2 separate regions of the Homo sapiens genome follow, and region 1 is linked to region 2. Evidence: promoter capture Hi-C in 16 types of primary human blood cells and fetal thymus (Javierre and others, 2016). All regions are on one chromosome and are shown on one strand. The core of a region is centred on a gene start or on the middle of the fragment in contact, and the rest is flanking DNA. Distances in the headings are between cores, read along the strand shown. Region 1 holds the start of H2AC18 (H2A clustered histone 18). Region 2 overlaps OTUD7B (OTU deubiquitinase 7B).

Evidence for each region. Contacts are between HindIII fragments. The CHiCAGO score rates a contact against its expected background, and 5 or more counts as called.
Region 1: a contact is called between the fragment with the promoter of H2AC18 here and a fragment that was not itself captured in region 2, in 9 of 17 cell types (naive CD8 T cells, total CD8 T cells, total CD4 T cells and 6 more). The highest score is 7.3, in naive CD8 T cells.

Annotation. Positions count from the first base shown.
Region 1 is chr1:149,841,471-149,844,519 of GRCh38, forward strand. H2AC18 (H2A clustered histone 18) reads right to left here and starts at 1,280. Exons shown (of 1, transcript NM_003516.3): 1 at 748-1,280. The coding sequence starts at 1,228. The coding sequence ends at 836. It also overlaps the pseudogene H2BC19P and a transcript of H4C15 not described here. The HindIII fragment of the contact is 2,631 bases long and covers 1-2,565 here.
Region 2 is chr1:149,959,670-149,962,697 of GRCh38, forward strand. OTUD7B (OTU deubiquitinase 7B) reads right to left here. Exons shown (of 12, transcript NM_020205.4): 7 at 15-127. Among named protein-coding and RNA genes, the nearest start is that of MTMR11, 24 kb to the left of the region's middle. The HindIII fragment of the contact is 2,620 bases long and covers 69-2,688 here.

The sequences.
Region 1 (3,049 bases), core at 30-2,529, 120 kb before region 2:
CTTTCCGCCCTTCGCTTCCTTAGAACACACTGCCCGCAATACCCCCCCTTTCTTGCTGCGCCCTACAGCTCCCGCGTGGAACCTCATTCTTCCATTTGCCCCCCGCCCCCAGTTGCTACTTGGCGGATCGTTTTTCGCCTGTCGGGTGCCTTTTGGGTGGGAGAGGTGCCCGCCCCCAGGACGCAAGATTCCGCCTCCGAGGCCCTTACTCTCCGCCGCCAGGGCGCTTTGGAAAACAAAACAGAAACTAAGACTTAAGTCAGCTCAGTGAAGCCAAGACCCAGCTCCGCCACACTAGCGAGCACTACCCGCTCAGGGCCCTCCCCATCGGGGGTGGGGACGAGGAGCACGTCCCGCTGGTGCCAGACTAGGTCTAAGTGTCCGGCCATAGCCTGCGGAAACCACTAGGGAAGCGCGCGCTCCGCGCGCAACACTTCAGCGCGTTGGGTACTGCCCGCGGCGCTGGTGTTTGTGACTGTGTGGAGCGGACCGTGGCGGCGCCCAGGACGTTTGGTGCCTGCACCTGCCCTGGGAAGTCCTAGGACTGGGGACCCACTCATCGAAGAGCCAAGGCAGTTACGTGCTCCAGATGGAAGACGGCGCGCACACACACACACCCCGCCCCGCCCCGCCCCGTCCCGTCCCGTCCCGTCCCGTCCCGTCCCGTCAGCTCCAGGTTCGCTATTCACTACTGAGGAACGCTGGACTGAGAGTGGCCAGCATTAACAACTCTTTTATTTGAAAACGTGGGTGGCTCTGAAAAGAGCCTTTTGAGTTCACAGGTGCCCCTTCGAGACGCGGGCCGGGCTGGGCCCACTTGGGCCGGACGTCAGCCTCACTTGCCCTTTGCCTTGTGGTGACTCTCCGTCTTCTTAGGGAGCAGTACGGCCTGGATGTTAGGCAAGACGCCGCCCTGGGCGATGGTGACTTTGCCCAGCAGCTTGTTCAGTTCCTCGTCGTTGCGGATGGCCAGCTGGAGGTGACGAGGGATGATGCGCGTCTTCTTGTTGTCCCGAGCCGCGTTGCCCGCCAGCTCCAGGATCTCGGCGGTCAGATACTCGAGGACCGCAGCCATGTAGACGGGCGCGCCGGCCCCCACTCGCTCCGCGTAGTTGCCTTTGCGCAGCAAGCGATGCACTCGCCCTACCGGGAACTGAAGGCCAGCGCGGGACGAGCGCGACTTGGCCTTGGCGCGGGCCTTGCCTCCTTGCTTGCCACGACCAGACATGACAGCGATAGTAGTCACCGAGAGAAACTCCTGCCTGGCGATCGGGAAAGTCGCCGAAAACGCCGCTGCTTCACCTTTTTATAGACAGAACGGCGATTGTCCACGGAGCACTTTGATTGGCTCAAGCAAATTTTGTCCCGATAGCCAATAGGATAGCTCAGCCAGAATCCACTCATTTACATAATCTCGTCTCCCTCGCATTGCGCGCCGCGGAAAACTCGCGAACCATAACGCAGCGTCATGCGCACAGCCTCTGTAAGTACACAGTCGTTTCCGGTAGACCCCGAGCCTACCGCTCTGCTTGCGTTCTCGGGGGTCGGTGTCGGTCTTGGGTCTGGCCATGCCTGAGCCTGCAAAGTTCGCGCCGGCTCCCAAGAAGGGCTCCAAGAAAGCCGTCACCAAAGCCCAGAAGAAAGACGGCAAGAAGCGCAAGCGCAGCCGCAAGGAGAGCTACTCCATCTACGTGTACAAGGTGCTGAAGCGGGTCCACCCCGACACCGGCATCTGGTGCAAGGCCATGGGCATCATGAACTCCTTCCTCAACGACATCTTCGAGCGCATCGCGGGAGAGGCGTCCCGCCTGGCGCACTACAACAAGCGCTCCACCATCACGTCCCGGAGATCCAGACGGCCGTGCGCCTGCTGCTGCCCGGCGAGCTGGCCAAGCACGCCGTGTCCGAGGGCACCAAGGCGGTCACCAAGTACGCCAGCTCCAAGTGAGTCCCTGCCGGGACCTGGCGCTCGCTCGCTCCCTCCCTCCCTCCCTCCGCGGGTCGCCGGCTGCTTTGTCTCCAAAGGCTCTTTTCAGGGCCACTTAACCCCGTTAGTGAAATAAGCTGTTTTCCCACTGCTTACTGTGAGTTCTACTTAGGGGTTTTCCCTCAGCACCTATCCCTTTTCCTGCAGATGATGGGAGAGGAATATAAGATAAAGCTATAAGATGTAGCTTGGTCGAGAACTACCTTGTAGTGACAGGGTCATGTGCACATAATTTGCCTTTTCCAAAGTGAGACGATATGCTACGGGTGCGGTCAATGTAAATCTGCTCAGGAGAGTCAAGGGAAAAAGTGTTAACTGCATATTGAGCTCGCAAAATTGTGTAGTAACCTGAAAATATTCCTAATAGTTTTGCGACCAAGCCTCACCATATAAACTTTCCTTCCGCACCTGTAGACCTCCATTCTGTGGTTGAAGCAATTTTTGGTTTATATAGCTCTCTTGTCTCAATTTGGTATTCCTTTCAGGTACTGTGAGTCTATAGGTATTTATTTCTGGGTTTCAAGACGTTAAATGCCATCAGAATTGAGTAATGCAAAGGCTGCTGTCATGGATAGTAAAGCTTTTTAGTCAAGTGCTGATAGACAATTCCCCATTGTTATCGTTGGGTATTTTACAATTTTCTGGGCAAGAAATGTAATGAAAAATTAAGTAAGTTTTAAAGGCCTTCGTCTTTGAGACTGGATACCTAAAACAATAGTGTTTCCTAAACAGTTAAAACTTATTTAACCCTGAAGCTTTCGAGACACACAAATATATACAAATATATATTGTATATTTCTTAAACCCCACATAGTTCCACTGATCTAAATCACTGGGGGCGAGAGGCAAGGATAGACAATCTATGACACAACACCAGGTGATTCATAAGTTTGGTAACCACTGACATTTGATTATGCAGTTGCCATATTCCTTAGTAAGAACCTGGTCACAATTTTCACTCACTACCCCAGGCAATTCCCCCTCCCCACACCCCCCTTTTTTCTGAGAATTTCAGTGAGATATACAAAAGTTTCATTTAATCCTTTATTAATTCCAGACTTT
Region 2 (3,028 bases), core at 129-2,628:
TTAGCCATACTTACCCACCACAGTTGGCTCCATTGGTACCTAGATGCATTCGGGGTTCACTTGAGGCAAGCTTGATCAGTTCATTCCACTCCTTCTGCCATTCATCTTCTGTGTATACCAGCCCTGACTGTGTGAAGGACAGGCAGGGGACATTGGGCAATTAGAGGCTGGGTTCTAAGAGGCAATACCTATTCCACCTTATTCACTGTTACTTACTCCCTAATCCCTTAGCACTTGGTTTACAAATTGTACTACAAAGTCAAATCTCTTATCTCTTTTACAGTCAAGATCCATGAACTAATAGTCTATGACTATTAAACTTCTTTATCATCCATTCTTTTTGACCTACTGCAATCTGTCCCATTTCTGCCCTCCATCCTGCTCACCCACCTGCCACATAACATTTCACCTACCTGATTTTGGCAAAGAACAATGACCTTCTAATTGCCACATTCAGTGGACCCTGGTTCCCATCTTAGCCTTCACATGGGTTATTTTCCTCTTTAAATTTTCTTTGCCATTAGCGTCCATAAAATTACTTTCTATTCCTCTAAATTCTGTCTGCCCCCAAAATACTAGTGGTGTGTCAATGATTTTCACCTTGGTTCCCTCTGGGTGATCTCTTCTACTGCCATAATCTCATCCACTACCATCTGTATGGTATATACCATCTATCTCCAGCCCAGATTTCTTAATTTCTTTTCTTTTTCTTTTCTTTCCTTTTTTTCTTTTTTTTTTTTTTGTAGACAGAGTCACCCAGGCTGGAGTGCAATGGCACAATCTCGGCTCACTGCAAACTTCACCTCCCGGGTTCAAATGCTTCTCCTGCCTCAGCCTCTCGAGTAGCTGGGATTACAGCACCCACCACCAGGCCCAGCTAATTTTTGTATTTTTAGTAGAGACGGGCTTTCCCCATGTTGGCCAGGCTGGTCTCGAACTCCTGACCTGGTGATCTGCCTGTCTCAGCCACCCAAAATGCTGGGATTACAGGCATGAGGCACTGCACTCAGCCTAGACTTCTTAATTTCTATATTCATATATCCAGCTACCTACTGGAGACTGCCACCTGCCCATGGCTACCTCAAACTCTGTAAAGTCAAAATAGAACTCCTGTTTTTTCCCAAACCCACTCTTCTTCCTATTTTCCTACCTTAGTGAATAGCACCAACTATCACCCAAACATCCAAGCTCAAAACCAAGGAATTATCTAATATTCCTTTCTTTCTTTCACCCACCCCACACCTGGATACCTTCTTTTTTTTTTTTTTTTTTTTTGAGACAGAGTCTCACTCTGTCGCCCAGGCTGGAGTACAGTGGAACGATCTCAGCTCACTGCAACCTCCACCTCCCGGGTTCAAGCAATTCTCCTGCCTCAGCCTCCCAAGTAGAAGTGCTGCATACAAAGCCTACTTTCTGGCCCCTACCCACTTCTCTAGTCAGATATATCTCACTGAATCAGCTGTAGTTCCTGAAATATACCATGTTGTTTTATACCACTGAGCTTTTGTCTAAGCTGTTCCTTCTGCCTGGAGTAGCTCACTTTCTGTCAACCTTGTGAACAATTTCTCAACTTTTAGGACAGAACTCAGGTATCATTCCTCCAAATAGTCTTCTAAATCTCCCTTGGCAGATCAACCACTCCTTCCTTTGTATCCTCTCTCCCTAACTGCTATAGAGTTGTTGTTGTTTTTTTGTTTGTTTGTTTGAGACAAAGTCTTGCTCTGTCACCCAGGATGGAGTGTGGTGGCATGATCTTGGCTCACTGCAACCTCCACCTCCCAGGTTCAAGCAATTCTCCTGCCTCAGCCTCCGGAGTAGCTGGGACTACACGTGCACACCACCATGCCTGGCTAGTTTTGTATTTTTAGTAAAGACGGGGTTTCACCATGTTGGCCAGGCTGGTCTCGAACTACCAACAGGTGATCCGCCTGCCTTGGCCTTCCAAAGTGCTGGGATTACAGGCATGAGCCACCGCATCCGGCCAGCATTAACTGCTATAGAGACGTCTATTGTAAGAGTCATACATGTTATAACCTGTTGCAATTATGTATTTACATGTCCATCTCCTCCTCTATGCTAGGATCATGTTTTATGCAATACACCCAAGGTCTATTTTGTGACTATAATCAATAAACATATGCTAAGTGAAACTACAATTTTTATCAAAGGAGAGCAGGCAATGGTACAAGCAATTTTAAAATACATTGGCTTTAGGATGTATATAATGATAAGGGAAATAAGTTTAACTTATTAATTTTATTTGGCTGACATTAGTATTAAAATGAGTCTATACGGCTTAACCGCACACTGACAGAGTAGAAGGAAATCACTGGAAACATGAGGGGTACTGGGAACAAATTTAATGGGAATTTTTTAAATGACACAGCTATTTTCAATTTGTAAAATGCTATCACAAATTTTACTTCAATTAAAAATAAAGAGAGCAATGCCCAGGTTCTATATGGAGTGCTGCAGTCACTCCAATAGACACATCCAGATCCGGCTCCCTCTTCCTGGCCGGTTTCTGCTTCCTGTTTTAATGTACACAGCCACTAGGTGGTGTACAACTTCTAGCCTTAACATTTAAGAAACTATTACTGAGCCTCACCACCAATTTCAACATAAAACAAGGAAGCCCAGGAAATCAAAACTTATTTAGTGTGGTTTTGGTACTGGGGAGCTAAAGGAAGCTTCCCCAGTTCATTATCCTCCTCCTACCATTCCCACTCCCAAGGTGGGTAATAATGCTATGAATGGTCTAAGCTAAGACAATTATGAAAGCCACATTTTCAGTATGAACTTTCACTGTGCTGAGCAAAAGGACTAAAACTATTGCTCCATTACTAGCCACTATTCTCTATGCATGTTGGGGACTTTCAGATGGAAAGGCTGACTTTGAGAGGGAAAGGCTGGCTGGCCAAGGATAGAACGTGGGTATTTCTGGGTTTCCTGGCTAAATACCATTATAATCTAACCCCATCTTTAGAATAATAACTAATTGCTTTAATAACTGGAATTGGGCACACTT